Regions from separate parts of the Homo sapiens genome. Here regions 1, 2 and 4 are each linked to region 3. The links are contacts of gene promoters, found by promoter capture Hi-C in blood cells and fetal thymus (Javierre and others, 2016). All regions are on one chromosome and are shown on one strand. The core of a region is centred on a gene start or on the middle of the fragment in contact, and the rest is flanking DNA. Distances in the headings are between cores, read along the strand shown. Region 1 overlaps ZC3H6 (zinc finger CCCH-type containing 6). Region 2 overlaps ZC3H6 (zinc finger CCCH-type containing 6). Region 3 holds the start of FBLN7 (fibulin 7). Region 4 overlaps ZC3H6 (zinc finger CCCH-type containing 6).

Region 1 (2,700 bases), core at 95-2,594, 180 kb before region 3:
TCTGCCACAGTCACTATTATTTAACATTCTTCTGGAAATGTGGCCAATACAATTAAAATTAAATAAGAGGTATAAATATTGTAAATGAAGTAAAATTATTATTATTTACAAACAGCATGACTATATAACAAAAACCCCATAAGAATAGATGGAAAGCTTTCAGAAACAGAATAAAGTATTTGCTTTCTAAAGAAATATGTCAAATCTGAAAAAATTTATTTTTCTTGAATAGGACAAATTCATTACATTTTATTTGTTTTTATTATTTGCCAAATCACTTCTGACCTGAGACTATTACAACATTTTTTTTAAAAAGGAAGGAGTATTTGCCTTACCAAATATCAAACATACTCTTACAGAGGTGAATAATCAAATACCACAATAGATAAGAGTAGTATAGAAGCAGAACTGTGTACAAATGAGAATTTAGGGTCTGGTGAAGATGCCATTTTAAATCAGTAAAGATAAGACAATGAGTTAATCATCTGAATAAAGGTCCTTATTAACACACTGTGTATTAAAATACAGTCCATATTAATGTAAATGTTAAATTTAAAAATACAATATTCACAATCATTATAGATTTCATTTTTCTAAAAAATTATGTGTATAGGCTGGGCCCAGTGGCTCACGCCTATAATCCCAGCACTTTGGGAGGCCGAGGCAGGCGGATCACCTGAGGTCGGGAGATTGAGACCAGTCTGATCAACATGGAGAAACAACATCTCTACTAAAAATACAAAAATTAGCCAGGCGTGGTGGTGCATGCCTGTAATCCCAGCTACTCGGGAGGCTGAGGCAGGAGAATTGCTTGAACCCGGGAGGCAGAGGTTGCAGTGAGCGGAGAACGCGCCATTGGACTCCAGCCTGGGCAACAAAAGTGAAACTCCGTCTCACAAAAATAAAAAATTATGTGTATAAACATATACACATCCATTCATACATACATACCAGCATAGAAAAAAAGTCTGAAAGGCTTTATGCCATACTCCAAGTATGGTTCTCTGTAGGATGACATTACTTAGGATTTTTTTTCTAAGTTTGTTTGAAGGTCATTAACCATACCAAAGTAGAGAGAATAATAAAATGAAGTCCCTCTCATGTTGACCTCATAGGTTCAACAACTTTCATCATTTGTTGTAAATATTTCCATACCTATTCTCAACATAAGGACTATTGTTTCTTTCCTTTTTTTTTTTGAGACAGAGTCTTGCTCTGTTGCTCAGGCTGGAGTGCAGTGGCACCATCTTGGCTCACTGCAACCTCCACCTCCCAGGTTCAAGCGATTCTCCTGCCTCAGCTTCCCAAGTAGCTGGGATTACAGGTGCACGCTACCATGCCCAACTAATTTGTGTATTTTTAGTAGAGATGGGGTTTCACTATGTTGGCCAGGTTGGTCTTGAACTCCTCACCTCAGGTGATCCACCCGCCTTGGCCTCCGAAAGTGGTGGGATTACAGGCATGAGCCACCGTGCCTGGCCCCTTTCCTCTTTAAATTAGTTATGGGAGTGGGGGAGGTGTCTCACTATGTTACCCAGGCTGGTCTCCAACTCCTGGCCTCAATCAATCCTCCCACCCCAGCATCCCAGTGTTAGGATTACAGGTGTGACCTACCATGCCTGGCCAGGAATACTTTTTCTTACCAATCACGACTTCATTACCACCCTGGCAAAATTAATGTGTTAATTTCAACTAGTAACCAGTCAATATACAAATTTTCCAGACTTTTAAAAAAGTATGTTTTTATAATTCCTTTCTTCAGATCAGGACATAAAGATGATCCACAAATTGTATCTAGTTAATACATCTCCCAAGTTACTTTTACTGATTTCTAGAAGTTCCCCTTTCCCTTTTATTTTTGTATCATTTGTTAATTTTAATATTGGTCATAGATGGTATTCAAATACTCTCTACTGTATCATATCAAAAGGCATTTAATATCTGGTTGTTTCTTTTTAGTAATGTTAAGACTGATCAGTCCTTTCAGGTGTTGTCAGCTCCATCCATCAGTTGTAAAGTTCCTAATTAACTTTTCACCTCATGATTTTAGCAGCCATCAGTAATCACTGCCCAGGTCTATTGTGGAGAAACTGCAAAACGTGGGATTGCTGGGTCAAAGGGTAAATGCATATTGCATTTACCAAGCTCTCCTCCATAGGAATGCACCATTTTGACATTGCCAGCATCAAGGTCTTCTCACATCCTTGCTAACAAACTTCACTGTCACGATTTTTTTATTTTTGCAAACGTGACACAGCTGCAAATGTTATCTCAGTGTAGCTTAAATTACATTCCCCTTATTAGGAACAAGATTGAACATCTTTCTGTATGTTTTGGGACCATTTGCATTTCTCTTTCTGGGAATTATCTGTATCTCTTCCCTCATTTTTCTTCTCAATGTTTAGAAACTCATATATTAAGGATATGACCTCTTCGTAAGTGATATAAATTACACATAATCTTTCTCACTTCATTATTTATCTTATTATTTAGCTCATGTTATATGTATTTGTTTTGCAAATGCAAGCTTTTTCATGGAGTCAAAATTTCAATCTGTTCCCTTTTTGCTTCTGGATTTTGAGACAGGAAATTTTTCTGTTCCAATTCATCATGTATTCCTCTGGTAATTACATCGTTCCATTTTTTGACATTTTGATCTATGATAACAGGCATTTTTCATTTTATTCACTTTCTTTTTTT
Region 2 (2,700 bases), core at 90-2,589, 160 kb before region 3:
TTCCTCCATCTTGTTCCTAAATGGTCTGGAGTTTGGTTTTTATGATTTTATTGCTTTTGTCTTTGTTGATTTGATAGGTGACATAAAGAAATATTTTTATAATTATGCTGTCAAATGCTTCAACTTTAAGTATCTAATCATTCTTGGCTAGGATTTAAAATAAATAGTGTCTATTTAAAAGCCATGTTTGCTCAGTCACCATCAGAAGTCAGCTCCAGCTCTAAGGAAAACCTTTCACCTGAAAAATACTAATAGAATTATACTCTGAAAAGATTTGGTCCTTGTGTTTCTTGGTAGGGTAGATTACAAACTCCAAAAAGTCTCAGACTTTTTGACTCTCTAGAATTAATTTTGTTAGGTAGTACTTTTCTAGAAAATTTTCCATTTCATCTTGCTTTTAATATTTATTTTCATAAAATTATATACATAAATTTCTTATGATTTGAATTTCCTTTTTGATAGTTATTTCACCCTCAGCATATATACATTTATTTTTCTTTTCCCTTTTATTATTGATAAGTTTGGTCAATGATATATATGTTGTTGATCTTTTTTAAAAAACTATTGGTTTTCATTCTAATTCATTCACTTCTGCTTATAATTTTATTAAGTACTTCCTTTTGGTTTTGTTTTGTTTTGTTATTATTCTATGCTGTTTGAGCATAGCTTATATTGTTTTCTTAATTTTTTGTCATTTTAAAATATTAGGTTAAATTTTTCATATGCTTTGTGGGCATGCTTTCTTTTCTGGAAGACTTACTCTCCATTATTCTCTTTTATCTTACAATAACAACTATGGAATGTGACCATAGTCTTATCTTGCTTCTCATGTGAAAAAAATGGATGGAATGGGCCAATAAAGCTTTCCTAGCTTCATAGCTCTAGGGTTATCTCTTCTGTTGTTAGCATGAAGTATTCAAAAATATGGCTATTTTCTGAGCTATGCCTCTTCTGCTTCCTTCCCCCATTTGTTATCTGACTATTTCTTTCCTTGGCCCTATATGCCTGTTTCTCAATGTAGACTTTACTTCCAGCAGTTACCTCCTCAGTGTGGGACTCTGTCATAAAAAGGAATTTGGTTGATTCATATTTGGGGTTCATCAGGTCCAGATCTTTTCAGCACCATCCAATTTCTGTGGTCACCTTACATTCATGCATGAACTGGTGATAGCACAGCCCCCTCCCAGTTTCTGTTGCTGTTCTCAGGCCCATGAGGTTTCCGTGCTGGGCACTGACCATTTGAGGTGAATATCTGTTGGCAACTTGGTTTCTGGAAGTCCCTTTATTTTCCCTCTGCTTCATTTGTACTGATGCTGTTGTTACACTGCTCTTGTTGCTGTCTATCGTTTGGCTCCAGTCATTTGTACTTTTTAGGTTTATTAGAGATAACTTGTTTCTTCCTTTTTTTGTAGATGTTGTCAATGGGTTTTGGTTGTGTTATCCTAATTGATGTGATTTTAATGGAGGAAATTCAGGGAGTTTCAAAACCTGCTCCTACATTGCTGCCAACTTGTCCATGATTTCTCAGTCAGCATAGGTTCCCCTTCTTCCCTACCCCAAATCCACATAATTCTCTATCCAGTACCTTGTTGTTTTTTTCATAGCTTTCCCATTGCAATGTAAACTCTTTAAGAGCCAACTATTTCACTCACTACTATAACCCTCAGCATACAGCATAAAGGTTTCCATAGTAAGCACTCGATCATATACCTAAATGAATAATAAATAGATGGACAATGCCAATGCTGCTAATCTGTATCTGTAGAGAATGAAACTCTCTTTCCTTAATCTTCCAATATCCATGTATACAAGCTTCCATCAATTAAAATATTATTTATTTCAATCTGCGTTAAAATTTAACTTGAAGCCCGGTGTGGTGGCTCACACCTGTAAACCTAGCAATTTGGGAGGCCACGGTTGGCACATCACTTGAGCCCAGCAGTTTGAGCCCAGCCTGGGCAACATGGCAAAACCCTGTCTCTACTAAAAATAAAACATTAGCCAAGTGTGGTGGTGTGCACCTGTAGTTCCAGCTACTCAGGAGGCTGAGTGGGGGATCACCTAAGCCTGGGAGATCAAGGCTGCAGTGAGCCAAAATTGTGCCACTGCACTCAAGCCTGGACAATAGACCCTATCTCAAAAAAAAAAAAGATTTAACTTAATTACTTTTTAAATCTTTAAGATAATTCATATAATCTTTGTTTAGAAAGTTTAATCACATAAATGAAAATATCTAATCCACATGTTTTATAATAAAATAATGACTTCTACTTTCTAATTTTCAGTATTTTATATTTCATAAACATTTATCAAAAGAATAAAAAGTAGATTCTAACTAACCTTATGTTTCTCACGTTTTCTCCTTTTGGATTTTTTCTTCTCTCTCTCTTTCTTATGTTTTTTTCTTGATTTTCTGTAGGCTTTCTCACTTTTCTGCTTTTCATTCTCTTTTGCTTCTTTTTCTTGTATTTCTTCAAATCCTGCATCGTCTATTTCACCATCTTCTAATTCGCCATCTTCTCTATAGAAGGAAAATTTTAATTTTCAAATATCATTCTAAAACAAATCTTACAGAAAGATTTTCAAAAGAAAAAAAGCATATGCCAAGGATTTATGTTATATTCATTTAGACAAGCACTTGAAAAATTTTTCTATAAAGGCCCAGATAGTAAATATTTTACATTTGCAGGCCATATATGG
Region 3 (2,700 bases), core at 124-2,623:
AGGGACACTGACCTGGAGAGAGGCGGGAGGGACACTGGCGTGGAGAGAGGCGGGAGGGACGCTGGCCTGGAGAGAGGCGGGAGGGACGCTGACCTGGAGAGAGGCGGGAGGGACGCTGGCCTGGAGAGAGGCGGGAGGGACACTAGCCTGGAGAGAGGCGGGAGGGACACTGGCGTGGAGAGAGGCGGGAGGGACGCTGGCCTGGAGAGAGGCGGGAGGGACGCTGACCTGGAGAGAGGCGGGAGGGACGCTGGCCTGGAGAGAGGCGGGAGGGACACTAGCCTGGAGAGAGGCGGGAGGGACACTGACCTGGAGAGAGGCGTGAGGGACACTGGCCTGGAGAGAGGCGGGAGGGACACTGGCCTGGAGAGAGGCGGGAGGGACACTGACCTGGAGAGAGGCGGGAGGGACACTGGCGTGGAGAGAGGCGGGAGGGACGCTGGCCTGGAGAGAGGCGGGAGGGACGCTGACCTGGAGAGAGGCGGGAGGGACGCTGGCCTGGAGAGAGGCGGGAGGGACACTGACCTGGAGAGAGGCGTGAAGGACACTGGCCTGGAGAGAGGCGGGAGGGACACTGGCCTGGAGAGAGGCGGGAGGGACACTGGCGTGGAGAGAGGCGGGAGGGACACTGGCTGGCCTGGAGAGAGGCGGGAGGGACACTGGCCTGGAGAGAGGCGGGAGGGACGCTGACCTGGAGAGAGGCGGGAGGGACGCTGGCCTGGAGAGAGGCGGGAGGGACGCTGACCTGGAGAGAGGCGGGAGGGACGCTGGCCTGGAGAGAGGCGGGAGGGACGCTGGCCTGGAGAGAGGCGGGAGGGACACTGGCGTGGAGAGAGGCGCGCGGGACAGGGGACAGAGGCGGGAGGGACACTGACCTGGAGAGAGGCGGGAGGGACAGGGGAGAGAGGCGGGAGGGACAGGGGAGAGAGGCGGGAGGGACGCTGGCCTGGAGAGAGGCGGGAGGGACACTGGCCTGGAGAGAGGCGGGAGGGACACTGGCCTGGAGAGAGGCGGGAGGGACACTGACCTGGGAAGCCCGCGGCTCGGGGCAGGCGAGGATCAGGAGCAGAAGGAAGAGCGCGCGCGGAGAGCTGGGCACCATCTTGCCAGTCGGAATCCCGCTGCCTGGGAGGGGAAATAACTTTGCCTCCGCTGCCGAGTTTGTCCCAGCGATGCGGCAGCCGTCCCTGCAGGGTGCGGGGCGCCGCGCGGCCGGGGGGCGGCTGGGGCAGGGGGGGAGGCGGGAGGCCCCGAGCGCAGCGCGTCCCGCGGGGATCGGCGCCGCCCGGGCCTTGCGAGGGTCCAGGTGCGCCCGCAGCTGCCCGCACGAGACAGTCCGCGCGAGGCGGGGAGGCGCCGGCCCCTGGGCTAAGGACGAGGGAGGAGGGGCTGCCCGGCCGGGAATGCGCCCGGGAGCGCGCCCAACCCGCGACGCCGAGGACGAGCGCGGGCATCCTCGGGGCCTGGCAGGGATGGGCGGCCAGTGCCCCGCATATGTGCGGGTGACTGGAAGCCCACCCTGGGCGGGTTCACTCCCGACCGTCCTATTTCCCAACCAAGTAGACTGAGGCTCAGTCACCAAGGACAAGTGGCAGAACAGAAACCCAAACCCAGGTCTGTCCTACTTCAAAGCCCACGCGACACCCTCCTCCCGACATTCCTAGAAGGGGGCCAGGAAATGGGCTTCATAAGCTTGACGTGGGGTGGACTGAGCTCTCCATCCGAATAAACTAGTGTCCCTTTAAATAATGCAATGGGGCCGTGAGAACACGCACGCACAGTGAGTAGATACACACACAGTGATACAGTGAGGGGATCTACGTCCTTCTGATTCACTGTCCTCCTTGCTCAAGGGAAGGAGAAACTCAGTTTAAATCGGAGGTCAGGTTCTAGAACATTGCCTGCCTTGCTGAAGTCGAATCAGGAAGTGCCAGGCCGGCATGAGCAGTCTGAAGTCCCCTGCCATCAGGGCTGTGGTACAACCAGATGCCTCAGACCTGAGCTCCCGGAAGGCATGACTGACGTTCTTCCTGGAAGGTTTTCTGAAGGCAGTCACTGCAGATGTCCTGGGACACACAAGTCTGGTCAAGCCCCAGATCTCTTTTTCCTCTTCCACATTTCACTTTGTTGAGCCCACTCAGAGCTCAGGGAACGGGGAGCCCACAAGACTGTGACCACAGAGCAGGAGCTGTTTCCCAGCAGAGGCCAGAAAGGAAAGCTGGAGTCCTGGCTTAGTCCCTTCAAACTGCTATAGCAAAATACCATAAACTGAGTGGCTTATAAACAATAGAACGTGTTTCTCACAGTTCTGGAGACTGGGAGGTCCAAGATCAAGGTGTCAATAGATTAGGTGTTTGGCGAGGGCCAGAGTTCTGGTTCCCGTGTCCTCACAGGGGAAAGGCAGCTCTCTGGGGCCTCTTTTCTGAGGGCACTAATCCCAATTTTGAGGGCTCTGCACTCATGACCTAGTCACCTCCCAAAGGTCCCACCTCCTAATGCCATCATCTTGGGAATGAGGTTTCCAACATATAAATTTAGGGGAGACACCAACATTCAGAACCTAGCCAGTGCCCCAAAAAGCAGGGGACATGGTTTAGGCTGGCCTCCTGGGCATTGGTTGCCCAGGAAATCCTACAGTGCTGCTCCCCCAACCTTCCCATGCAAAGGAGGTGGAACGGGACCCATGTAAATCTTTTTTTT
Region 4 (2,700 bases), core at 3-2,502, 200 kb before region 3:
AATTTCACCATTCCTTTCAACCTTAATACTCTCATGAAGGTATTAAAATCAGTAATGAGCCAAGAAGTATGGGGCCTGACTATCTGCAGAGCTAATTTTTTCTAAAATGCTATAATTAGCTATATATTCACTTTTTTCTTATAAACTCTAAGCTTAAAAAACAAGAAGGTCAAGAATAAACAACGCTGTAAAATACTATTCCAAGAACTCACAATCTTCTTTGAACTCACAGCTCTTCCTTATGCCTACAATAATTTTGCTAACAGTAGCATGATTGTTCTATTCCAAAGGGTAACGAAAGGTGTTTAAAGACCAGATACAAGACCCAAAATTAGAGTCAAATCATAACTTAAAAGGGAAAATTACTGTTCATGGTATCAGGATAGAAGGAATTTTAAATGCTATTGATAATTCACTAGGTTAGGACTAAGTATTTATTTTAAAATAAAAGACTGGCCAGGCACAGTGGCTCACGCCTGTAATCCCAGCACTTTGGGAGGCTGAGGCGGGCAGATCACTTGAGGTAAGGAGTTTGAGACCAGCCGGGCCAACATGATGAAACTGTGTCTCTACCAAAAATATAAAAAATTAGCTGGTTGTGGTGGCGCATGCCTATAATCCCAGCTACTCAGAAGGCTGAGGCAGGAGAATTGCTTGAACCCAGAGGCAGAGGTTGCAGTGAGCCAAGATCATGCCACTACACTCCAGCCTGGGCAACAGAGCAAGACTCCGTCTCAAAAAATAAATAAATAAAAATAAATAATAATTAAAAAAAAAGACTGGGCCAGGCGTGGTGGCTCATGCCTGTGATCCCAGCACTTTGAGAGGCCAAGACTGGTGGATCACTTGAGGCCAGGAGTTCAAGATCAGCTTGGCCAACATGGTCAAACCCTGTCTCTACCAAAAAAATACAAAAATTAGCTGGGTGTGGTGGCACACACCTGTAGTTCCAGCTACTCAGGAAGCTAAGGTGGGAGAATTGCTTGAACCTGGGAGGCGGAGGCTGCTGTGAGCTGATAGCGCCACTGCACTTCAGCCTGAGCGACAAAGTGAGACTGTCTCAAAAAAATAAATAAAAAACAGGCTGAGCACGGTGGCTCACGCCTGTAACCCCAACACTTTTGGAGGTTGAGGCGGGTGGATCACCTGGGGTCAGGAGTTCAAGATCAGCCTGATCAACATGGTGAAACCCCGTCTCTAGTAAATACAATAAATTAGCTGGGTGTGGTGGCACGTGCCTGTAAGCCCAGCTACTTGGGAGTCTGAGGCAGGAGAATCACTTGAACCTGGGAGGCAGAGGTTGCAGTGATCCGAGATTGCACCATTACACTCCAGCCTGGGCAACAAGAATGAAGACTCTGTCTCAAACAAAAACAACAACAAATTAAAAAAAAAAAAAAAGAATGGCTATGCAGTTACTTTTCTGGTTACAGAAAAAATCCTGCAGACCTTTATAGGAATAAATTATTGATCAATCCAAACTTTCACCATGAAGTAATCTTGTAAGTCTGGAGGACTCTTAAAGTTATGAATTATTATGGAAACATGGAGCTCCTAAGTTGCCATAATCTGTCTTCACATTGCTTGGGCTGAGGGTGGGGACAAAAAAGAGCAGGTGGGCTGTCTACCAAAAGAGATATAACCCATAAGGTGCATTCTTCCTAATGCAGTCATGGAATACTTCTGCCACACCTGTTTAACGGGTGACAGCATCTGTAAAAGTGACATTTGGATGGATGTCAGGAAGCCATCAACAAGCAGTTAACAAAGCACCCACTGTAGGCCTACAACTAGGCTTGTTTCTATGGCAAGTATAAAAATAAGGAGATACATGTGGGTCCTGTCTCCAAAAGCATAAAATATTATTTTAAATGTGCTTTTTGTTTCTTATTTTAAAATTAGAAATTCTAAGTACTATGTAGATGTTAACTTTTCTTGGGTCTGTATCCTTTCCAGGAAAGGCAGGATAATAGGGAGGGCTTTGTCACAACTGGCAGATACTGCTGATAAATGACATAAATGACATACTCAAACACAAAACTCCAGCAATATAGTGACTGGTAGCTGCCAAAACTTTCTGCAAACCACATGAAACTGCTTGGGGAGAAGGCATTATGTAAATGCTAAGGTGTAACACCTAAGAAAATAGCTTTGAACTCTTAGGCCGTTTGGTTATATATGTCAAAACTTGGATTTCCTAAACTAAGTCTTATTTAAACTATAATTATAGTTTACAAATGCTTATATATTTTACTGGACTTAATTTTGAACATAATGTCATCAAGTGCTGCCAAACCATTTTTGAAAAGATAATTCAAGAAATTAACAGAAAGCTCAATTATTGAAGCTTGCGGGGTGGGGGACCCTATCAGTGGACTGCATGACTGCAGACCACCCCCACCAAGGTACAGCCTTCAACACAGTCCAACCCTCCAAAAACATCAGGGAAAACATCTCCACCACAGATTCTATGTCATGCAAATGAAGAGATTCTGACAGCCTCTTTAAGATCTCATATCCTGGTCCCTAGGAGCTTCCTAACTTCTAGTGGCCATTAATTAAAGAAACATAATACCTTTATGAAGTAAGTAGTCTTTCAGGAAGACCGCAGTGTGACATGCCTGAAGAAATACATATTACAGACTGGGTGTGAATATATCTGTTGTTTCTAAGAGCTGGTGGCTCTTATATTGAATGAGC

What was found. The method cuts DNA at HindIII sites, captures the fragments that hold promoters and counts their contacts. A CHiCAGO score of 5 or more calls a contact.
Region 1: a fragment that was not itself captured here is called in contact with the fragment with the promoter of FBLN7 in region 3 in 1 of 17 cell types (activated CD4 T cells); the score reaches 5.1 in activated CD4 T cells.
Region 2: a fragment that was not itself captured here is called in contact with the fragment with the promoter of FBLN7 in region 3 in 1 of 17 cell types (activated CD4 T cells); the score reaches 7.3 in activated CD4 T cells.
Region 4: a contact is called between a fragment that was not itself captured here and the fragment with the promoter of FBLN7 in region 3, in 1 of 17 cell types (non-activated CD4 T cells). The highest score is 5.3, in non-activated CD4 T cells.

Annotation. Positions count from the first base shown.
Region 1 is chr2:112,318,145-112,320,844 of GRCh38, reverse strand. The region is part of intron 7 of ZC3H6 (zinc finger CCCH-type containing 6); the gene reads right to left. Among named protein-coding and RNA genes, the nearest start is that of ZC3H6, 44 kb to the right of the region's middle. The HindIII fragment of the contact is 2,371 bases long and covers 159-2,529 here.
Region 2 is chr2:112,299,670-112,302,369 of GRCh38, reverse strand. ZC3H6 (zinc finger CCCH-type containing 6) reads right to left here. Exons shown (of 12, transcript NM_198581.3): 2 at 2,341-2,521. Among named protein-coding and RNA genes, the nearest start is that of ZC3H6, 25 kb to the right of the region's middle. The HindIII fragment of the contact is 950 bases long and covers 865-1,814 here.
Region 3 is chr2:112,137,058-112,139,757 of GRCh38, reverse strand. FBLN7 (fibulin 7) reads right to left here and starts at 1,373. Exons shown (of 8, transcript NM_153214.3): 1 at 1,028-1,373. The coding sequence starts at 1,102. The HindIII fragment of the contact is 8,502 bases long and covers 1-1,694 here.
Region 4 is chr2:112,336,004-112,338,703 of GRCh38, reverse strand. ZC3H6 (zinc finger CCCH-type containing 6) reads right to left here. Exons shown (of 12, transcript NM_198581.3): 12 at 1-2,700. Among named protein-coding and RNA genes, the nearest start is that of ZC3H6, 62 kb to the right of the region's middle. The HindIII fragment of the contact is 2,195 bases long and covers 155-2,349 here.